4 separate regions of the Homo sapiens genome follow, and regions 1, 2 and 4 are each linked to region 3. The links are contacts of gene promoters, found by promoter capture Hi-C in blood cells and fetal thymus (Javierre and others, 2016). All regions are on one chromosome and are shown on one strand. The core of a region is centred on a gene start or on the middle of the fragment in contact, and the rest is flanking DNA. Distances in the headings are between cores, read along the strand shown. Region 1 overlaps RBBP6 (RB binding protein 6, ubiquitin ligase). Region 2 overlaps RBBP6 (RB binding protein 6, ubiquitin ligase). Region 3 holds the start of ZKSCAN2 (zinc finger with KRAB and SCAN domains 2). Region 4 holds the start of TNRC6A (trinucleotide repeat containing adaptor 6A).

Region 1 (5,439 bases), core at 1,182-3,681, 710 kb before region 3:
AGTACTGAGATTACAGGCGTGAGCCACCGCACCCAGCCTAAGAATTATAAATTTATGGGGAGAATTAATTCCTACAATCCAGTGTGAAATTTTACTTTAATTTACCAAGTGCTTTTTAAAAAATGGCAAATGTATTTTCTGTAGATTTTTTGATAGAAACTCTTAAGAATTATTTGAAGTACATGGCAAAATAAGTTGCCTCTTACACAGAATTATATGTTAATGTACAATATATAGGGTTCTGTTTGTAATAAATTTGCCTCATAAAATGCATCTCAGTTTTTTTTTGAGCAAATACTAGAAAATCAAAGCTCAGTTTTTTTTTTATCTCAAATTCCAAATTATACACACACCTAGAAACTCCTGTTAGATGCTAACATTTCTCTATAGTCAAGATACCTTAAACTTTAAGCATTAAAAGGCTATAATCTAGCAACTCAACTTCTTCCCCTTTCCTGTGTGGATTAAAATAATTTCTTTTGGGGTTTATGTCTTTTAAACATCAAATTGTCCAGTTCTACACAGCCATTTAAGTCAGTTCTTTTAACTAAAATACTCTGATTATATTGTGTTTTTCTGGGAGTGAGAATTTTTGTTCAGTTTTTTTTTTTTTTCTGTTTTTAAGAGATGGGGTCACTATGTTACAGCCCAGGTTAGTCTCAAACTCCTGGGCTCAAGTGATCCTCTCACCTTGGCCTCTTGTTCAATCCTTGATTGTTGTTTTGAGACATTTGAAAAATGAAAATAGCTATCAGCCTGGCCCTCCAGATTTGAAAATTAGTTTTGGGAGCACAGCAATTTCTCAGGGATTCAAATTACAAATGTTAACAACAGCAGTCTTCCTGATGTGTGAAAATTTACGCATTCAGAAACTGGGAAATTATATAATTTAAAATTTTCAGTTTATTAAGAATAAACTACGTTTCTAAACATAAAATCCCTATACTACCTTTCAGAAAACATTTGTTTTAAGTGGCAGGGTACACCTATTTTTGAATTCCCTAGTATGGAATTTTTTTCCAAACCACAAATCTATCTTAAAACTGCTCAAAGGTGGTAAAGATTAATCAGAGTAATTTATTCATTCAGAAATTGGCTGTTAAATATTTATACCAAAGGAAAATTAGGTTCCTAAAAATGTATTATTGAAGATAATGTGTTAAAATTTATTAGCACAAAAATTCATAAATAGCTAATGTTAATTTTTGTTTTTATTTTGTGTTTTAGAAGTCGAACTGAACCAGCGATGGCAACTACAAAAGCAGTATGTAAAAACACAATCTCACACTTTTTCTACACATTGCTTTTACCTTTATAATGTAGCAGTGAAGTAAATCATTTTAGAACTTAATATCCAACTGATCATAGTACATATTGTAAATAAAATGTATTTTGATGACAGCTCAGTTGAATATGGATAATATGTGGCATCACTTGCACACTTATTTTGTAGAAATGGGTAATTTGTGCCCGTAACACTGTTTCATATTAAATATGATAGCATTATCCCTGTATGACACTGTGTTGTACAGTTAATGTATGATCCTTTTTAGATCGTTTAGGTTTTACACTAAGGAACATGATGACATGTTCTACATTTGTCTGTCTATAGTTAGTATTTTGTATGTATGTACAGGCTGTTGTGTGCTTTTTGTTTCTTGCAATAAAAAATGTTTGGAGTGTATATTTTGCCATTTTCACGTTGTATCACTTAGTTTTTGTTAGTTTTTTTTTTCCTGCCTGATTTATGGCTTCCAAAAACGCATTAGCAACATGCAAAGCTTATATTAAAGTTTGATGCTTTCTCCAAGTTCAAACACATCATAGAAAAGAGCTTTCCAGAGACCATTGATGCAGCTTTATTATTTAGTCTTGCTTTATTTGGCATTTTGAGCTCCTTCTTTTGTTTACATCTGTACTATAAAGTGAAACCTGAACCTGGGGCCCCCTATGAATATATAAGTGTCTTAGTGATTTTGAGTTTATATAAACTGATTATATTGTTTTCAAAGTTTAATGAGATCTTCCACTTCTATCTAGTTAGTGCAGATGTCCAAATTAAAATATTTCCCTCTTATACTAAAATGCTGCGTTAATTTTAGGCCATTGAAAGCTGTACCTTATCAGAGGTAACTCCCCTTAACCAGGATAACTGGTTTGAAGAAAGTTAAGCTTAATTTTTGTAATCACAGATTAACTTAATTTGTGATACCATTTTAACTTTGAGCTCTTAAGTAAAAAGTAGCAGCATTCCTAAGTTGTGGGGTGAAGCATCTGTTTCATAACACAGGTCTATCATAATTGGGTTCTGTAAATGTAATGGTTCTCTAAACATTTTAATGCCCAGGCTTGATATTGTACACAATGCAAGATGTCTAAAATCTTCATTTAGAATTCAAGGGTATTGCTTGCTATTTCACATTATATACTTTTTAAATACTATTGCTCTTTGTATATGAGGCATTTCACTAACCTTGGATCATTGGATCTTAAACATGATAATATAGAATATCTGAACATTGGACTTGTTCTTTAGAGTATATGGCCTTTAGTTCTTGTGGAACTAAATACAGTGATTCTAAGATCAAAAGTCTTAGTGTTTGGGGTTTTTTTTTCCTCTTTTTGGATATGGGGTGTTTTTTTTTGTTTTTTTGTTTTTTTTTTTTAAGCATAATGCTGTAAAAACTGTCCAAGCTTATGTTTTGCTGGTGATTGGTTTAAAACTGATTTTTATGTATCCAAATGCTAGCATAAATTAGATTGACTATCCTGGTGACTGTAGTAGTTAATGTAACACATTTTGTATAAAGTACAGTTTATATAGTATTTAAACTAATTCAGATGAAGTTTTATTTCTTGAAAACAGTTATTTCCTTTTTGTTTATTAGCATGTGTATAAACACAAATCACATGTTCATAAATAAAGTTAACATTCTTTTAGCCTTGTGTGTTCCGGCATGTCTGTATTACATTTATAAGAAGCAGTTTATTTAAGCTTATTTAGGTTTCTCTTTTCTTTTCTTTTTTTTTTAATACTTTAAAATTGGCTTTAATTTTTAGGTAGAATTATCTGAAATAGAGATATTAGATAACCTTGTTGTCCCCATCATTTATTTGCTTGGGGTACATTTGCTGGCATTTAAGATGAGAATATATTCATCAAGCATAATTAGTGCCCATCTTAGGAGATTTAGAGTCACGTGGATTGTACACATTCACAAAAGCAAAGTAAATAGAGGCGCTAAGCCAAATTTTTCTTATCCTGATTAGTAAAGTAAATGTATAGTTTTGGTAATGGAAGCGAACTCTAATCAAGAATGGATGGCTGTTTCCATATTCCCCAGTCTTGTTTTTAGTCATCCATCCATGTTGATACCCCAAAGCTGGATGTTCTTCTTGCTAACTAAATATCAGAGTGGTATTTTATAGGATTCTTTAACTTCAAAAAGCTAATATAATTGGCATAAAAGATTTTAGATCCTTGCTTCCCAAAACAAGACCCCTAATTAGGTACAGGGAGGTGGGTTAATTTTAATGTCTACGGTCTGCATCAGTCCGTTTTGTGAGGACTTTAAGTGGCAGACTTTTTTTTACCATTAGTATCTTACCAAGAGTCACTATTTTTATTGATGTTTAGTAATACAAATTCCTAATCATTTTTAAACCATTCTTTGTCAACATTTTTTGCTCATTTCTGAACACCTTGCTATATGTAGGAAACATTTGTTTGCTTTTCTAAATTTGAGGTAAATTTGACTTCTTTGTGGACTATAAGATATTTAGGGGCAATAGTGATTACTTGGTGGTAAAAAGGTGATTTAGGTGCAGTTGCATATCTAAAACCACTTCAAAGTCAATAAATACATAATACTAATAAGTTAGCAGAAAGCTTAAAAGCACACAAAAGCCCAGCATAAAAACAAAAAGGATACTATATCTTAAGTGTTAGGAGTGGGAAGATTTTTTTTTTATTCTTAAGTTTTTTAGTTCCAGTGGTAAGAAAGTTAATATAATTGTTTTCTTTCCAAGGAAATCATCAGTATTTATATTCTATTCTAGATAGTAATGGGCTATTTTTAAAGACTATTTGTTTTATTGGTTAGAATGTAGTATAGATGATGGTTGACAGCAATTTGTCTAGTCCTTGTTACTTAAAATCAAGTAACTTCTGGTTGGTATAAAATCTTTAAAATAGATTGAGTAGGTCAGAACTTATTTTAGATAAAAAGAGATATGTATTATTTAGAGGTTTTTTTCTACTTACCACTTGAGATTAGTTCTTAAAGGAAAAAAATACTTAAAAGCTGGACAAAAATGATAACCCATTGGCAAATTATGTAGATATGCATTAAGTTATAGGGTTAGTGCATCATGAACTCTTTTATAGTCAGTTCCTTAATGTGGAGCAAAGAACCTTTTGTCTGAATAAACATCCCAGTAATATCCATCAAATTAACTTTTAAAACCCTAAGATATTTGTGAGATGTGTCTTATATTTAGCCAACATTATTTTTTATTTACATTTATTGAATCCCTACTGTGTGGGCATTGGCTAAGAACTTCATATTGAGACTGGTTACATTTGTCTTTGGGGCTCTTAAGTCATGTTGCTTTTATTTTAAAACTTTTGGTTCTCTGGAACAGAATACCTGATGAAGACTTTTTTCTTTGATCCAGACATCTTGTTACATTCTCCATTTTAAATGAAGAGTTCTGACCTTACGACATGTTAACTAAGCAACCCACTTACTACGTAGGAAGCTGTAGGGAAATCATATCTTCAAGATTGTTTGCTAAAGATTTTTTTAAAAACTGATATTAAAATCATTTCAGAGGATCAAATGAAAAAAATTAGTGTTCAATTTAAAATACATTTTTATTTTTATTTTATTTTGAAAGAGAAATGTTTTATTCCTCTTTGCACAGAACAGTTTATGAAGGTGGCTCTCTCCTGACTCCATACATCTTTTACACAAAGATGCCTCTTCAAATATGCCCAGTTATCTCCCCCTCTTCAGTGTTAGAGAATTGGCAGTTAGTGAGTGGGGCAGAATGCTTAAGGCTCATTAAAATACCTTTTTTAAAGCCCTCTTATATCCTTTATGTACACTTGCTCTGTGTGATTAAATTAACTTTCTTCAAATATTAGAGTCCATCATAATAAGTGACAGCTCTGTTGGCCTTCTCCTCAGGGTGCCATTGTTTTCCCTTTTTTTGACTTAACATCTTTGCCCTGAGAAAGCTGTGGTTTCTTTGACAAGAAGCTATTACTCTTTGTATGAGAGAATAAACAAACTTACTCAGACTGAAGAGTATGTTTTCAAAAATTAAAGAAGTAGCAATTATATGGGAGCTGTTATTTATTAAAGCAATTATCTGAGCCCTTAAAGGGCTGTTTGTTTTTACAATGTTGTATAATGGCCTTGCAGGAAAATTAGA
Region 2 (5,131 bases), core at 609-3,108, 690 kb before region 3:
AACTAGAATTTATTCTGCTTTGTATGATCTTTACCCACTTCCTCCCTCAAAAAAGAGGTTACAGGAGTTGGTTTTCCTTCATTTAAACTTTTGGGGCCAGGTGTGGTGGCTCTCACCTGTAACCCCAGCACTTTGTGCAGATCACCTGAGGTCAGGAGTTTGAGAACAGCCTGCCCAACATGGTGAAACCCTGTCTCTCCTAAAAATACAAAAATTAGCTGGGCATGGTGGCACACGTCTCTAGTCCCAGCTACTTGGGAAGCTGAGGCAGGAGAATTCGCTTGAACCCAGGAGGTGGAGGTTGCAGTGAGCCAAGATTACACCACTGTAGTCCAGCCTGGACGACAGAGTGAGACTCTGTCTCAAAAAATAAAAAATAAATGAATAAGTAAGCTTTTGGGGAGAGCTAGGTCATAGCAGCATTAACCTGTCAGTGCCTTCAAAAGACAGTTTAGGAAGTAACAGGTAGTAATTAGTGGAGTGATAATCAGTCTGAACTTCATAAAAGAGAACTTTTAAATACAATATTTCCGTGTAGAGAAGGTCCTATAAACTTGCATCATCTCAGTCGAGACATGGCCTTAAAAATTATGTTGTAGAGTTATTTTTACAAATAAATTGTACTAATGTTGCTACACTAGTTGAATAGTTGGTTCTATTCCACTGTTTTTAAGTTTGAAAATAATTATGGATAGAAGAGATAAGCTTACTTGTCTCAGATGACTTTAGTTTGAAGAAGTAATATCTTGGAATTTATTTTTCCAGAAGTATAAACCGTGGGCGACACCACAGCGAAAGATCACAGAGGACTCAAGGCCCGTCACTACCAGCAACTCCAGTCTTTGTACCTGTTCCACCACCTCCTTTGTATCCGCCTCCTCCCCATACACTTCCTCTCCCTCCGGGTGTTCCTCCTCCACAGTTTTCTCCTCAGTTTCCTCCTGGCCAGCCACCACCCGCTGGGTATAGTGTCCCTCCTCCAGGGTTTCCTCCAGCTCCTGCCAATTTATCAACACCTTGGGTATCATCAGGAGTGCAGACAGCTCATTCAAATACCATCCCAACAACACAAGCACCACCTTTGTCCAGGGAAGAATTCTATAGAGAGCAGCGACGACTAAAAGAAGAGTATGTATTCTAATTTGAAATTATTATACACTTTTTTCATTTTCTGATAATAACATTAAATAGGTGTCTGGAAACGTTTTCCAGTGTTTCCAGTTAGTATGAGAAATTCACCTAAAATTTAAACCAAAGCCATACAAGCAACTTCTCAGGGATTCCTAGTTTATAGTTTTAAAGTGGAAAACTAATGGCAATTTCATTCATTTCATTCATGATCTAATTACATTTGTCTTGTTAGTTTTCTTAAATGGTTTTTGTTAACTTTCACTCTTTAACTTTATTTTACTAGGGAAAAGAAAAAGTCCAAGCTAGATGAGTTTACAAATGATTTTGCTAAGGAATTGATGGAATACAAAAAGATTCAAAAGGAGCGTAGGCGCTCATTTTCCAGGTTAGTGTTTTGCAAGCCTTCACAACAGAATTACAAACGGGACTTTGAATATCCAGGGATTAGCTATGGATATAAAGAACATTGCACTTAGGAATTTTTCTGATTCGGTCTAGGTGTATAGAAGTGAAGATGTAGCTTATTTCCCAATATCTGTTCATTGAAATAATGTCTCAGTGTAAATTTTATTGTGTAGAACTAACAGTTGTGGGGATTAAATTGCCCTTGTCCCTTAAAGTTATTCATAGTATCAAATAATTGGGAAATGTTTTTGGAAGGAAAGAAATAGGGGAATAGCCAAAAAACAGTTCCCAGGACCCTTTTACCATAAGGCTACAGCTTCTTGCTGGAACATTAACCTGCGTAATTATGAAGTAGTAGTAGAATACAGATCGCTTTATTGATAGAAAAAGTGAATTATAAAAATTCCCTGGAAGTTTGTTTAAAAGACTTTATTTTTTAGCCTTACACTTGAAATGTGGTTTCTTTTAAAACTAGGCTGTTGGCCAGTATAGGACAAAAAACAGACTCCTACTTCAATATTCAGATAGGAAGTGAAATTTAAAATTAATTGACATTTTGTTTAATGTTAGTTAGCTCATATAACTCACGGTACATTAATGCACTTCACTCTAATTGTTAAGACTTCACTTTTGTTTTGTAACAAGTGATTGCTCCGATTTGTGTACTTTATTCCATTCCAGTAGAGGTCACTGTGCCTCTTTAATCATCTAAGATGAAATTTGATATAAAGATAGATGAAACCGTGAGGAAAGAATGCTAGAATCTGAGAGTCTGTGTTTTATTTTGTATGTATTTCTCAACTATCAACTATTGTTTTGTTTTGTTTTTAGGTCTAAATCTCCCTATAGTGGTTCTTCGTATTCAAGAAGTTCATATACTTATTCTAAATCAAGATCTGGTTCAACACGTTCACGCTCTTATTCTCGATCATTCAGCCGCTCACATTCTCGTTCCTATTCACGGTCACCTCCATACCCCAGAAGAGGCAGAGGCAAGAGCCGCAATTACCGTTCACGGTCTAGATCTCATGGATATCATCGATCTAGGTCAAGGTCACCCCCTTACAGACGCTATCATTCACGATCAAGATCTCCTCAAGCGTTTAGGGGACAGTCTCCTAATAAACGTAATGTACCTCAAGGGGAAACAGAACGTGAATATTTTAATAGATACAGAGAAGTTCCACCACCATATGACATGAAAGCATATTATGGGAGAAGTGTTGACTTTAGAGACCCATTTGAAAAAGAACGCTACCGAGAATGGGAGAGAAAATATAGAGAGTGGTATGAAAAATATTATAAAGGTTATGCTGCTGGAGCACAGCCTAGACCCTCAGCAAATAGAGAGAACTTTTCTCCAGAGAGATTTTTGCCACTTAACATCAGGAATTCTCCCTTCACAAGAGGCCGCAGAGAAGACTATGTTGGTGGGCAAAGTCATAGAAGTCGAAACATAGGTAGCAACTATCCAGAAAAGCTTTCAGCAAGAGATGGTCACAATCAGAAGGATAATACAAAGTCAAAAGAGAAGGAGAGTGAAAACGCTCCAGGAGATGGTAAAGGAAATAAGCATAAGAAACACAGAAAAAGAAGAAAAGGGGAGGAAAGTGAGGGTTTTCTGAACCCAGAGTTATTAGAGACTTCTAGGAAATCAAGAGAACCTACAGGTGTTGAAGAAAATAAAACAGACTCATTGTTTGTTCTCCCAAGTAGAGATGATGCCACACCTGTTAGAGATGAACCAATGGATGCAGAATCAATCACTTTTAAATCAGTGTCTGAAAAAGACAAGAGAGAAAGGGATAAACCAAAAGCAAAGGGTGATAAAACCAAACGGAAGAATGATGGATCTGCTGTGTCCAAAAAAGAAAATATTGTAAAACCTGCTAAAGGACCCCAAGAAAAAGTAGATGGAGAACGTGAGAGATCTCCTCGATCTGAACCTCCAATTAAAAAAGCCAAAGAGGAGACTCCGAAGACTGACAATACTAAATCATCATCTTCCTCTCAGAAGGATGAAAAAATCACTGGAACCCCCAGAAAAGCTCACTCTAAATCAGCAAAAGAACACCAAGAAACAAAACCAGTCAAAGAGGAAAAAGTGAAGAAGGACTATTCCAAAGATGTCAAATCAGAAAAGCTAACAACTAAGGAAGAAAAGGCCAAGAAGCCTAATGAGAAAAACAAACCACTTGATAATAAGGGAGAAAAAAGAAAAAGAAAAACTGAAGAAAAAGGCGTAGATAAAGATTTTGAGTCTTCTTCAATGAAAATCTCGAAACTAGAAGTGACTGAAATAGTGAAACCATCACCAAAGCGCAAAATGGAACCTGATACTGAAAAAATGGATAGGACCCCTGAAAAGGACAAAATTTCTTTAAGTGCGCCAGCCAAAAAAATCAAACTCAACAGAGAAACTGGGAAGAAAATTGGAAGTACAGAAAATATATCAAACACAAAAGAACCCTCTGAAAAATTGGAGTCAACATCTAGCAAAGTTAAACAAGAAAAAGTCAAAGGAAAGGTCAGACGAAAAGTGACTGGAACTGAAGGATCCAGCTCAACTCTGGTGGATTACACCAGGTAGCTGAGTGTAGGGGGTGGGTGTGGAACTTTGTTGGGAGAAGGATTTTCTTCAGTTTTATCCATGCTTGTGCTTTTTATATTAATTATGAATGCTGATCTAGGGAAGTAGGCTGGTTTTATGTAGTCTTTTGTTGTCTTTGAAGAAGGGAATTGCCAAAGACAAGGTTGTAAATAGATTTTGGGGGTGAGCCACATTTGTGTTGATACAATCATAATCTTAAATTGTGTGTCTTCCTTAGGGCAGAATAAGTTTTTTGTTTTTTTTAATGTTAAAAGGACATTTGTGTTTAAGTTAGCATTTTTATATTTATCAGTGTTTTATAATTAATAGTAAATTCTTCATTAATTAAAAATATTTTGTTATTCTTTTTAGTACGAGCTCAACTGGAGGCAGTCCTGTGCGGAAATCTGAAGAAAAAACAGATACAAAGCGAACTGTGATTAAAACGATGGAAGAATATAATAATGACAATACCGCGCCAGCTGAAGATGTTATCATTATGATTCAGGTTCCTCAATCCAAATGGGATAAAGATGACTTTGAATCTGAAGAAGAAGATGTTAAATCCACACAGCCTATATCAAGTGTAGGAAAACCTGCTAGTGTTATAAAAAATGTTAGTACAAAGCCATCAAATATAGTCAAGTATCCTGAGAAAGAAAGTGAGCCATCCGAGAAAATTCAGAAATTCACCAAGGACGTGAGCCATGAAATCATACAACATGAGGTTAAAAGTTCAAAAAACTCTGCATCTAGTGAAAAAGGGAAAACCAAAGATCGAGATTATTCAGTGTTGGAAAAGGAGAACCCTGAAAAGAGGAAGAACAGCACTCAGCCAGAGAAAGAGAGTAATTTGGACCGTCTGAATGAACAAGGAAATTTTAAAAGTCTGTCTCAATCTTCCAAAGAGGCTAGAACGTCAGATAAACATGATTCCACTCGTGCTTCCTCAAATAAAGACTTCACTCCCAATAGAGACAAAAAAACTGACTATGACACCAGAGA
Region 3 (5,789 bases), core at 2,226-4,725:
TTAATGTGCAGGGCAGCTATGAATGTCAGTGGTCCCTTCCCTGTGAAATCTTAACTGTTTATCTCTCTTGTATGCCACTTCTGTGATGGCCTGTGAGTCAAACTTTGAACACAAATGCCTTGTTCCCTTTCAAACAGCTTTTTGACTTATTTATAGTCAGCCAAGAGCACATACACATGGCAGGACTGAAAAACACATGATGATTGTAGAATGTAGATCTTATTTTATTTTTTTGTAGAGAAAATGTGTTTGTCTCGCTATCTTGCCCAGGCTGGTCTTGAACTCCTGGCTTCAAGAGATCCGCCTGCCTCGGCCTCCCAAAGTGTTGGGATTACGACGTGAGTCACTGTGTCCAGCCATGGAGAGTTTACCACCACAGGATCTCATAGCTGGCCCAGGCAATCTAAGTTTCCCCAGTTTGGATCTTTTTTTTTTTTTTTTTGAGACAGGGTCTCGCTCTGTCACCCAGGCTGGAATACAGTGGTGTGATCACGGCTTACTGCAGCCTCAACCTCCTGGGTTCAAGCAATCCTCCTGACTCAGCCTCCTGAGTAGCTGAGACCACAGGTGCACGCCAACACACCTGGCTAATATTTTTTTTTTTTTTGCGATTTTGTAGAGACTGGGTTTTCCCATGTTGCCCAGACTCAGTTTCCATCTTTATGATACCTTTTCACTTATATTGCACATGTTCCTAATTCTTGAAGTGAATGAAACCTTTCTCCTATTCTGAATATGTATCAAGGAGGCCCTCCACTGCACATTCACAGCGTTGGGGTACTGCGGAAATCTGCCCCAGCCTCTGCACTAGGCGTGCTCCGAGTCTTCCCTCTTACCATTCTTGGGTAAGGGCCGACGTTCTCGCTTTCGGTTCAGCTGTTCCTGGTGTCCTGAGTGGAGGCTTCCAGGTTCCTCCCGAGACACCGCCCTGGGTTGGGTCTCCACCTGCTCTGGCTGGAAGTCTGCCACCTCCCACGCTGCTCCAAGTGGGGAGTGCTTCTCCCGGTGCACGGGACTGCTGACCTGAGAAATGAAGTCAATACCATAAGAGGGAGTAAAACAGGCCCATATCAGGGCGAAATTCTCCCAGGAAAGACATCAAAGAAGGACAGAGACATGAGAAGGAATGAAAATTCCACTCCATTCCCAGTGGAGTCTCTGAGAGCGCTGGGCTGAGAGTACTGTCCAGCAGTCTGGGTGTAAGGTAACAGAACAGTGTTCTTTTTTCTGAGACAGAGTTTCACTTTTGTTGCCCAGGCTGGAGTGCAATGGCACGATCTTGGCTCACTGCAACCTCCACCTCCCAGGTTCAAGCGATTCTCCTCTCTCAGCCTCCCAAGTAGCTGGGATTACAGGCATGCACCAACACAACCGGCTAATTTTATATTTTTTTAGTAGAGATGGGGTTTCATTATGTTGGTCAGGCTGGTCTCGAATTCCTGACCTCAGGTGATCAACATGCCTCGGCCTCCCAAAGTGCTGGGATTACAGATGTGAGCCACCGCGCCTGGCCAGAATAATATTTAATACTAAACAGAGAAGGAAATCTGTCAGGAGTGAAAGAGCCTCCTTGTTGCTAGAATAGATATTATTTGACTCTATATCTGTTACGTTCGCAAAGAAGTTACCAGGACATGAATATATACAGTAGTGAAATGAAAACTTACAAAATTAATATCCACATCTATCTGTCTATCCCTGACCAATACAGCAACCTGCTGATAGATCTCTACACAATGCAAGTCTGATGCAAGGTGAAACCGCAAATCTTGCAAATGCTGCAGGATTTCACGAGGTTCATGAAAGTGAGGTTGAAGAACAACTAGAAGAGCATGCAAGCCACTGAGAAATGAAGATGTGGCAGTTAGACTGGAGGAGAGTGACAGAAATGAAGGCATGAGAGCACTTCAGAAGACACTGAGTGCAACAGTAAAACGCTTGGAGACGGCTCTGGGATAACGGATGAAGTCTTTTTTTTTTTTTTTTAAAGGGGGAACAGAATAGCCTTTTTTGATCAAAATGCGTAAGTGAACCTCTGTGACGCAAAACCATATTGTTCTCTTATATTGTTTTGTTGCAAACATTATGCCAAAGATGACGATAAATGCTTAGGTGAATAATGTCTGGTTTCCATTGTAAGATAATATTTCAATCAAAGCTTTTATTTTTCTATTTCATGTGAAATTCTGATCCCCTTTTAAGTGGATTCACTTAAAGTGAAAAGACCCCCTTATAGGGTCTTTTATTAGTACCATTTATCTTTCTCTGAAGAGCACGTCTTTCTGCAATACATCCCTGCCCACATGCCTTTCCCATTCCCTTTTTTCTAAGTACAAAAATTTGGAAAATCCTCTCTCACCTGCTGTCTTAGTCTTCCAGTCTCTTTCTCCAAATGCACTACCAGGGCCACCGCTTCCTCTCCACTTTGCGGACACTGCTTCTGTGCCCAAGCCTGAATCTTCTCGGGTAAAATGGTGAGAAACTGCTCAATCACCAGCAGCTCAAGTATTTGCTCCTTGGAACGCATTTCTGGCTTCAGCCACCGGCAGCAAAGTTCCCAGAGTTTACTGAAAGCTTCATGGGGTCCAGTCACATCCTCATAACAGAATTGCCTGAAGCATTTGCGGAAGGTCTCAGAGCTATCCGATCCTTCCAGAATGGGCTCTGATGCCCACTCAGGGTCCTTTTCCACCTTCATTATTAGGCATCCCTCAACCTCCAGGGGCGCGTCGATCTGAGAGTCGAGGGCGACAGCCATGCTGCAGCCCAGGGGTCAACTTCACGTCTAGCTCAAGGTGGGGACCCAAAGAAGACTCCAAGCGCTCCCTGCTTAATGTTCCTGGGAGTGTGATAAGGTACGGAGGTAAAAACGGCCAGGTCGGCAGGAACAGGGTATTCCAGGCTGATTAATCAAATCTATGCCAGGCCCTTGAAAAGGTGAACGTATACTCTAAGATGCAAAAGCCTGGCCTCTTCTCCAAACAAGATGTGACCGCGCAATGTGGTTTTCCAGAGTGCATCCCTCTTAGTGCAAAGTCGGAAACCGGGAGGCTGGACGACTGGGAGAAAAATGAAGCAGGCTGAGGAAAGGCTGGGCGGAGGCGGACAGCCGGGCCGGGAGGGGGTGTGTCCGCTACTCCCGGGTCGGGCGCGGAGAGGCGAGTCCCCGAGTGGGTGGGGCCGGATGTGCAGGCCCCGCCCGGCGCCAGGTTCCGGGCTCGGGTCACCGCAGCACGTCCAGGCCGCCGCGGGTGCCGCTGGGGCCGCCGGATTCCGAGAGCGGCGCCGGGCTCTTTCGGGCCCACGACGGCCCCGACCGTCCTGAGGAAACCGCTGCCGCCGAGGAAAGGCCGCAAAAACTGTTCCGCCCGGAAGGGAGAAGAGCTGCGGGGCGAAGCCAGGGCTCGCAGGGGGCAGCGGCAGGCTGCTCGCGTTCGGCCTCGTCCACTCGGCCCGCGGAGAGCGCGGGGGGCGCTGGGAACCGCAGTCACGCATGCGCCGCCTGCCACCGAGCGCCGCGGGGCCCGCGCGAGGCGTCCTGGCGGGCGAGGGGCTGGGGGAGGGGGGGGGGGCCGTGCGGTGGACTCTCGCGAGAGCGCGCGGCGCGGTGACTCGTCGCTGAGGGACTTTAAGATTGTAGAGGGGCGCGGAGGGTCCTCCCCGGGGCGGAGGGACACAGAGGGATTCTAGGGAACCTGCCGTCGCGAGTCCCGCTTCAGGCGGAGAATCTAGGCGGCGGCGGGGCCTCCCTGAGGCGGAGGAGTCGGCACCGGGGCCTGGCTGCCGGGGAAGGAGAGCACGGGAGCGGGGACTCCTGTGTCTGGCGGAGGGACACGGCGTTCCGGTGGAGGGATCTGTTCCTTGTACCTGGTCCAGGGTTGCGGTCGGGGATGGAGCGGTTACCCCGACCCTGCGGGACCTTCTTCCTCTGGCGGAGGTGCACGGCGCGGCGTGGTGTTTTTCTGGCGGAAGTATCTGTGCGTGGCCCCAGGCCCTTCCCGGCGCGGTCTCATCTGGGGCCACTTGTTGGCCCTCGCGTTGGGGAGGTTCATGTGGTGCATCCTGATGAGAAGGGGGGTCACAGGGGTCTCGGGGCCAGGGTTCAGCCAGCCAGGCCCCAGCTTGCTCTCTTCTGGTGCTGCCCCTGTCCCTGAATTCATAGACCCGGCTTTCCCTCTCTTGAGCACCTACTATGTGCCAGGCTGCGCTTTGCGCATGTAGCAGAGGCAACAGTGTCACCTGGGAAGCTGGTTTCCCCCAAAGGAACTCTTGTCTGTCCGTTGTTGCAGAGCCAGCGCATGAGACCAAGTGTGAGTATCAGGCAGTGCAGCCTTCATTCAGTGGCCATGGAATTGGAGAAGTGGGAGGGTAGCTCGCAAATCAAGCTCTCAGCTCTTGGAAACTGAGAAGTTACAGGTAATAGGGAGTGTTGACGAAAAGTAAAACCGTGCAAAATATTTGAAGAGATTTATTGTGAGCCAAATACGAGTAACCACAGCCTGTGATACAGCCCTCTCGAGGCCCTGAGAACATGTGCCCAAGGTGGTCGGGGTGCAGCTTGGTTTTATGTTTTAGGTTGGCATGAGACATCAGTCAAATACATTAAATACATTGGTTTGGTCCAGGAAGGCGGGACAACGCAAAGGGGTGGGGGTGGGGGCTTCCAGGCTATAGGTAAATTTAAATATTTTCTAGTTGACAATTGGTTGAGTTTGTCTGAAGACCTGGGATTGATAGAAAGGAAGTGTTCAGGTTAAGATAAAAGATAGTGGAGACTAAGGTTCTTTTGAAGTCTTATGGTGGCTGCTCTTAGAGATAATAGATGACAAATGTTTCCTATTCAGATCTTCAAAAGGTGTTAGACTTTTAGTTAATCCGTTTAGGATTGGGAGGGCCTGGAAGAAAAACATCTAGCTATGTTAATAGATGTTCTTTACAGATGCACATTTTACCCCACAAAGGATAGCTTTTGGGGGAAAATGCTGTCCTTTATGGAAGAAATTGCAAAATAGGGCAAGGAAACATGTTTTGGGGTAAAATATTTTGACTTTCTTTTTGTCACGTAATGTTATGCCAGAGTCAGAATGGAAAGTAAGTCATCATATATAGGATTAAATAAAACCCATCTGATGAGAATTTATGGTTTGTAGGTCATGACTCCCCAGATCCCTTAGATAGGAATTTGGGCAGGATTAAAAAAATCAAGAGTTTAGGCTGGTCGTGGTGGCTCACGCCTATAATCCCAGCATTTTGGGAGGCCAAGGCAGGTGGATCGCTTGAGGTCAGAAGTTTAAGACCAGCCTGGCCAACATGGCGAAACCCCGTCTCTACTAAAAATACAAAAATTAGCTGGGCATGGTGGCACACGCCTGTGATTCTAGCTGATTGGGAGGCTGAGGCATGAGACTCAACTTGAACCCGGGAGGCGGAGGTTGCAATGAGCTGAGATTGTGCCACTGCACTCCAGCTTGGTTGACAAAGTGAGACTCTGTGTCAAAAACAAAACAAAACAGAAAAAAAAAACAAAAGAATCAGAGCTTAGTCGTCAGGTGTCCTTAATGAAGGGGCTGGGCATTAAGAGCAAGGCGAGGAGGCAGAAGGAAAGCTTGAGCCCAGGAATTGGAGACCAGCTTGGGCAACATGGTAAGACCCTGTCTCTAAAAAAAATAAAAATTAAGAACAAGAGGAGGAATATTCATGTTTTTTCTTGGGAAGGGAGGTAGATTTTCCTGGAATCAAGGAGCTGCCCCTTTTTTTGTCCTTTTTTTGGTCTCTTCGGGTCATCACGG
Region 4 (5,393 bases), core at 1,048-3,547, 530 kb before region 3:
CTGGAGCTGGGAATTAGTTCCAGGCTTTCTCAACCTTGGTGCTATTGGCATTTTGGTTCAGATACTCCCGTGTTGTAGGGGACTGTCCTACGCATCGTAGAATATTTAGTAGAATCCCTGGTCTGTAGCTATCAGATACCAATCAGTAGCATCCAGTGTGACAACCAAAAAGTTCATTGCTAAATGTCCCCAGGGGTAGGGATGGGGGCAACATTGTCCCAATTAAGAATCACTGAGTCATTAAAACCTAAAAAAGTCTAATAAAAAAAAAATCAGCCAATCTTAACAGCTGTGCAAATGTTGATAAATATGACTGTTTTCATTGCCTTATGTTGTTGTGAAAAATTATTCCTAAACCTGGTATGAAAGCATATTGTGCCATTACGTATATGTTCATATTTTTAAACTCCTAATGAAACACCATAGTAACTTTTAAACATTTTAAGTAGAAAGGATTATGAAAGAAAAACAAATATGTGTGTAGGTAAATGAACCTCAGGGATGATAGCAGGAAAAGGAAAGTCACTAGCATTTATTCGGTGCCCACTACATTTTATATTTTGTAAACCTGATTTTTTTTTTCAAAAAAGTGTTTTTTATATGCTCATCGCAAAAAAGAAAAAAACAGATACACTAAAAGAAGAAAATGAAAAAAAGTCATAATCAGTTAACGTTTTGGTGCATATGTTTCATGACTTTCTGTGCATTCATTCACTAGCTTAACCTATCGGAGAGGACAGGAACCCAACATGTCTAGGGAAGTTTTGTTTGTTTTTAACGGGAGAGATTCAAGCATGTTGTAAAGCCAGTTGAAGCTGGGCGCGGTGGCTCACGCCTGTAATCCCAACACCTTGGGAGGCCGAGGGGGGCGATCACCTGAGGTCAGGAGTTCAAGACCAGCCTGGCCAACATGACGAAACCCCGTCATTACTAAAAATACAAAAATAGCTAGGCGCAGTGGTGCGTGTCTGTAATCCCAGCTACTTGGGAGGCTAAGGCAGGAGAATTGCTTGAACTCGGGAGGCGGAGGTTGCGGTGAACGGAGATCGCGCCACTGCACTCCAGCCTGGGAGACAGAGCGAGACTCCGCCTAAAAAAAATGATAATATAATAAAAAAATAAAAAAAAAAGCCAGTTGAAGAACTTAGGTTAGAAAAAGGAGAATGGGATGATCCACAGAGTGGGGTTTCTGAGAAAGTAAAGGTTATAGATTTTAAGCACAGAGGAGGAATTATCTTTAAATTAGAAGAAAAAGCTTGATGAGAGGTTGGAAAGAACACACGCAAGTGAAAATATGTATCTTACTGTATCTACATGTATGTGTATTGTTGTATCTACCTGCAGATATGTATGTCTTATTGTATCTACATGTAGGTATGTATGTATACTTTTAATGTACACATATGCATCTGTGTCTACATATATACATATCTTAGTCTATCTACATGTATGTATCTTACTGTGTCTACACTAAGATGTTTCTTACTGTGTGAGCTACGTTGGAACCTGCTTTTTCATTTATTCTATTGCAACCATTTCCTCCATGCCGGGATTATTCCTCCACATCATTTTTACAGTGTCCTAATACATGCCAGTAGCTGTTTTTGAAGCCATCTAGTAGCGCTGGACATTTTGGCTGTTTGCAATTTTTCACCATCATCAATACCACAGCTTAGTATCTCGAAGGTGAAATATTTGCAGATACCCAGAATTATTTCCTGAGCAGAAAATCCGTGCAGGCGGAACTGCTGAGTCAAAGGTCGGTGGATAAAAATCGCTTTTAAGCCTCACAACCCGCCTCAGGTATGCATTCTTTACCTGAGGAGGAACAGAGAAGCAGAGAGGTTAAATAACTGGCCCAAGGTCAAAAATAATTAGAAGTGGCTGAATTCAAAAGCCGCGCGGGCTCATCAGGCTGCAGTTGGGGTAAAATTTGCGTTTTAGGCAATTTTTTTTTTTTTTTTTTTTGGCGTGTGTCAGTGGGGGAGGGGCCGGGCGGCGGGTAGGAAACTTGTGTCGCAGCAAAGAAGGAGGAGGAGGGGAGGGACTCCCCTCCTCGGTCAGACCGGAGCCGGCCGCACCGAAAAAGGTTGGACTCGGGACTCCGCAGGCCCCCCCAGCCACTCCGCGGGGCGCCTCGGAGGCTGTGACCTCCAGGGAGGTCCGGCTGGGTGCAGCGTGACACGCCGGGGCGGTTGCCAAGGACCTGCCCAATCTGCGGGTCCAGTTGCTAGGGCCTCCATCTTGGGGGCCAGTGGCCGTGGCGCCCCCGGAAGGGGTTGCCGAGTGGGGCATTCACTTCCGGTCTGGGGCCTGCGGCGGCGGCGGTGTCGGCGGCGGCGGCGGCGGCGGCGGCGGCGGCGGCAGCGGGTCGGTGTAGAAAATGGCGCTGGTGCAGCGGCTCGGGCCTCTCCCCGCGGCGCTGCGGAGGGCTTGAGGCTCGCGAGCCTCCTTCGCCGCGCCCCACTTGCTCGTGCACTTTACACACATGAGGTGAGCGGAACAAGGGCCTCCCTCCGGGCGGGAGGAGCCGCGGGCGCTGCCGCAGGGCCCGCAACCCGCGGCGGCGGCAGCAGAGGCGGCGGCGCCGGGCGTCCCCGAGACTTCGGGCCTCGGCGGGAGGGCGCAGGCTGCGTTGCTGCGGAGGCCGAGCGGGCGGCCCGGGGGAGCCTCGCTGCGCCGCGCCGCGGGGGCCAGGCCGGGGTTGCGCCTCGCCCGCGCCGCGGGACCGCAGTCCGGGCTGCAGCCCCGCAGCTTTGTGAGTCCCCCTCCCCCCGTCCTCTCCCCTCCCCCATCCGGCCCCGGCGCGAGCCTCTGCCGCAGCAGCTCCGTTTTCACGCGCATCTCGTTTTTGTGTGTGTGTTTTTGTTTTGTTTTTGTTTTTGTTTTTTTGTTTCAGAGAATTGGAAGCTAAAGCTACCAAAGACGTAGAAAGAAATCTTAGCAGGTAAGATGGGCGAGCTTTCCGTCTCCCGCCCCACGATAATCGTATATTTCTACTCCGATTCGCCTTTTCTGGGTTGAGAAGTTCCCCCGTGACATTTTCTTCCGCACCCGGAGAGCAGACATTCGGGAGAAGCGGCCTGGGGGAATACTGGAGGGATTGCGGGGAGATGCGTAATTACGCGTGTGTTTCTTTCTTTAAAAAAAAAAAAAAAAAGCGCAAAGCAATTCTTGTAAACTTAGTTAAAGCATTCTCACCCTTTTAGAATTTAATTAGGGGACTTGTGCATTAATTACTATTGTAAATGGTTGCAGGCATTGTGTGACTCATGATTGAGGCGGCCCTTATGGCGGGCTGTCAAACTGTTTTGGCTTCCCCGTTATTACTTTGTAGCTCAAATTGTTGCTTTTATAAAAAGATACTATGTGTTCGCATTCCCCCCCGCCCCCCCCCCCCCCCCATACATTGTAGTCAGGCGGATTCTGTTGCATTGGACACAGTTTTGTCCTTGAACTTTACCAAGCATAAGCTGCGTTTTGTTTTCCTTCGAAACTCCATTTCTGTCCATGTTCGGTGTGTGCTCTTTTTATCAGCTGGTAAAATAATTAAAAATCTTTTCTCCAGAAGAGGTTATCGTTCCTGTTGGGCCCTGCTGCTTTTGCATCACCGTGAAGGGAGAATTTTTTTTTTTTTTTAAACGATGTCTTTATGGAATGGAAATATTTAGCTTCATTGAGCTGTAATTGCTTAAGCATCAAGGAATTGTACTGTATTTAACTCCTTTTCACATTCATTTTCTTTCCTACCGTCTTTTCCTTTCTTATTCCCCTTTTTCTTTTGCATCATATTGGGACACTCAGGGAAACTTAGCCAATTAACCAAATCCGTGAATAGCTTTCTTTTTTTCTTTTTTTTCACTTGTTGAAAATAAAATGAAATTTCTCCTATCTCAGGTTTTAATGTAGTTTGCTCTTGATGATTGCGGGTTTTAGGTTTACATTGGGGTTTTTAACACTCACATTTCAAATCGTCTGAATATTTTGCACCGCGTAGAATTGTTCCAAATTGCTGGCCTATTGAGTTTCATAAGATACTAATCTGTTCAGGTGATCGTTAAAGAATGTGTTCAGATGGTGAAGGATAGGCATCATTGGTTTACCCAGTAAGGGATTCTCTGTTACTCAAAATAATTATGGGATCATTTAAAGGAAATTAAGTCTGACATCACTGACTATTTGTGGTATATTTACATAAATTTTGTCAAAATCTAGTAAGGAAATGTTAAGATATGAAACCATTAAAGAAAACAGGTTGAGCCATTAAGGTGTAATATCAGCAGAACAGAGCTTAGAGGTCTGTTTCTCCTTCCATTTTTGTTTTATCAGGTAACTATATCAGTATAATTCCTATGAAGGTGCTCTAGTACTTAATTAAAAATTGTCTGTGCCACAGGTATAATTTTAATATTAGGTAGAACTCGAGTCTGGGTTGGCTATTTATCAGAGTTTGAATTCCAGCTCTGCTACTTGCAATATGACCTTGACTCTTGGCAAGTCACTTAGCCTCTCTGTCCAATCTATAAAACGAGCGGCGTGGGCCAGCCAGTTGCTGAGGTCTGTTAGGCCCTTTGGGTTACATAAAAGGAGTAAAGTGCTGTCCGTGTTCACAGAGGGCATGTACAGTCTAGTAGAAAGACTATCATAAATGCATAAATAACAGTAGTACTAGGTAGATGACGTAGGAATCAAAAGATACCATCCCATTCATGTGCTTGAGAATATTCAGTCGGTCAGAAGGCATGAAAGGAAAAACAAATATCAAAGAGATTGTAAGGCAGTGTGTACTAAGGATCCAATGAGAGGGGAGCATTTCTTGCAGGTTAAAAGTGTTCTGAGGAAGGAGAGAGGTGATTAGGTGGGCAGATGCTTCCTTCATCTCCATCTCTAGCTGTGTTTCCTTTTTCACAAAAAAGAATGTATCTGTCTTTACCCATAGTGCTCTCTCCAGGAAATCAAGGCATTGTATTCATTGAGTAACCATTTTTTGAGCATTTTCGATATTTCAACTGTGGGACTGGGCACTAAGCCAGGGAAGAATGTAAGTAGTTAAATTTATTGATTGCTTACTATGTGCCTGGCACACTTTTCCTAAGATTTTACATGGACTCATCTGATCCTTGAAAAACCCTGTGAGGTAGGTAGTATTGTTATCTCCGTTTTACAGATGGAGAATTTGATGTATAAAGAGGTTAAGTAACTTGGAGGAGACCATATCACTGGTAATTGGAGTAACTTTTTAGGCTTCGAACTTGCAAAATTTGAAAATTTCTTTTGGTAGGCGGGACCCACAGATGCATGCAATACTTCTAGATCAGTTTTTTCATCTGGGCACTTGACATTTTGGACCAGATAATTTATTATTTTGAGGGTTGTTCTGTGCATCACAGGAT

The links. Contacts are between HindIII fragments. The CHiCAGO score rates a contact against its expected background, and 5 or more counts as called.
Region 1: a fragment that was not itself captured here is called in contact with the fragment with the promoter of ZKSCAN2 in region 3 in 4 of 17 cell types (fetal thymus, naive B cells, activated CD4 T cells and 1 more); the score reaches 6.4 in fetal thymus.
Region 2: a fragment that was not itself captured here is called in contact with the fragment with the promoter of ZKSCAN2 in region 3 in 1 of 17 cell types (activated CD4 T cells); the score reaches 5.1 in activated CD4 T cells.
Region 4: a contact is called between the fragment with the promoter of TNRC6A here and the fragment with the promoter of ZKSCAN2 in region 3, in 2 of 17 cell types (fetal thymus and total B cells). The highest score is 5.8, in fetal thymus.

What each region holds. Positions count from the first base shown.
Region 1 is chr16:24,547,718-24,553,156 of GRCh38, forward strand. RBBP6 (RB binding protein 6, ubiquitin ligase) reads left to right here. Exons shown (of 18, transcript NM_006910.5): 3 at 1,228-1,264. Among named protein-coding and RNA genes, the nearest start is that of RBBP6, 11 kb to the left of the region's middle. The HindIII fragment of the contact is 522 bases long and covers 2,171-2,692 here.
Region 2 is chr16:24,566,378-24,571,508 of GRCh38, forward strand. RBBP6 (RB binding protein 6, ubiquitin ligase) reads left to right here. Exons shown (of 18, transcript NM_006910.5): 15 at 766-1,128; 16 at 1,415-1,516; 17 at 2,368-4,122; 18 at 4,499-5,131. Among named protein-coding and RNA genes, the nearest start is that of RBBP6, 29 kb to the left of the region's middle. The HindIII fragment of the contact is 2,311 bases long and covers 704-3,014 here.
Region 3 is chr16:25,254,370-25,260,158 of GRCh38, forward strand. ZKSCAN2 (zinc finger with KRAB and SCAN domains 2) reads right to left here and starts at 3,476. Exons shown (of 7, transcript NM_001012981.5): 1 at 2,360-3,476; 2 at 837-1,023. The coding sequence starts at 2,758. ZKSCAN2-DT (ZKSCAN2 divergent transcript) reads left to right here and starts at 3,208. Exons shown (of 1, transcript NR_170220.1): 1 at 3,208-5,789. RefSeq lists enhancers at 2,842-3,402, 3,818-4,137, 4,258-4,337 and silencers at 3,088-3,327, 3,408-3,607. The HindIII fragment of the contact is 3,031 bases long and covers 2,573-5,603 here.
Region 4 is chr16:24,727,354-24,732,746 of GRCh38, forward strand. It overlaps TNRC6A (trinucleotide repeat containing adaptor 6A), which reads left to right and starts at 2,298. Exons shown (of 25, transcript NM_014494.4): 1 at 2,298-2,493; 2 at 2,900-2,947. The coding sequence starts at 2,489. RefSeq lists a silencer at 2,327-2,636. The HindIII fragment of the contact is 6,808 bases long and covers 1,254-5,393 here.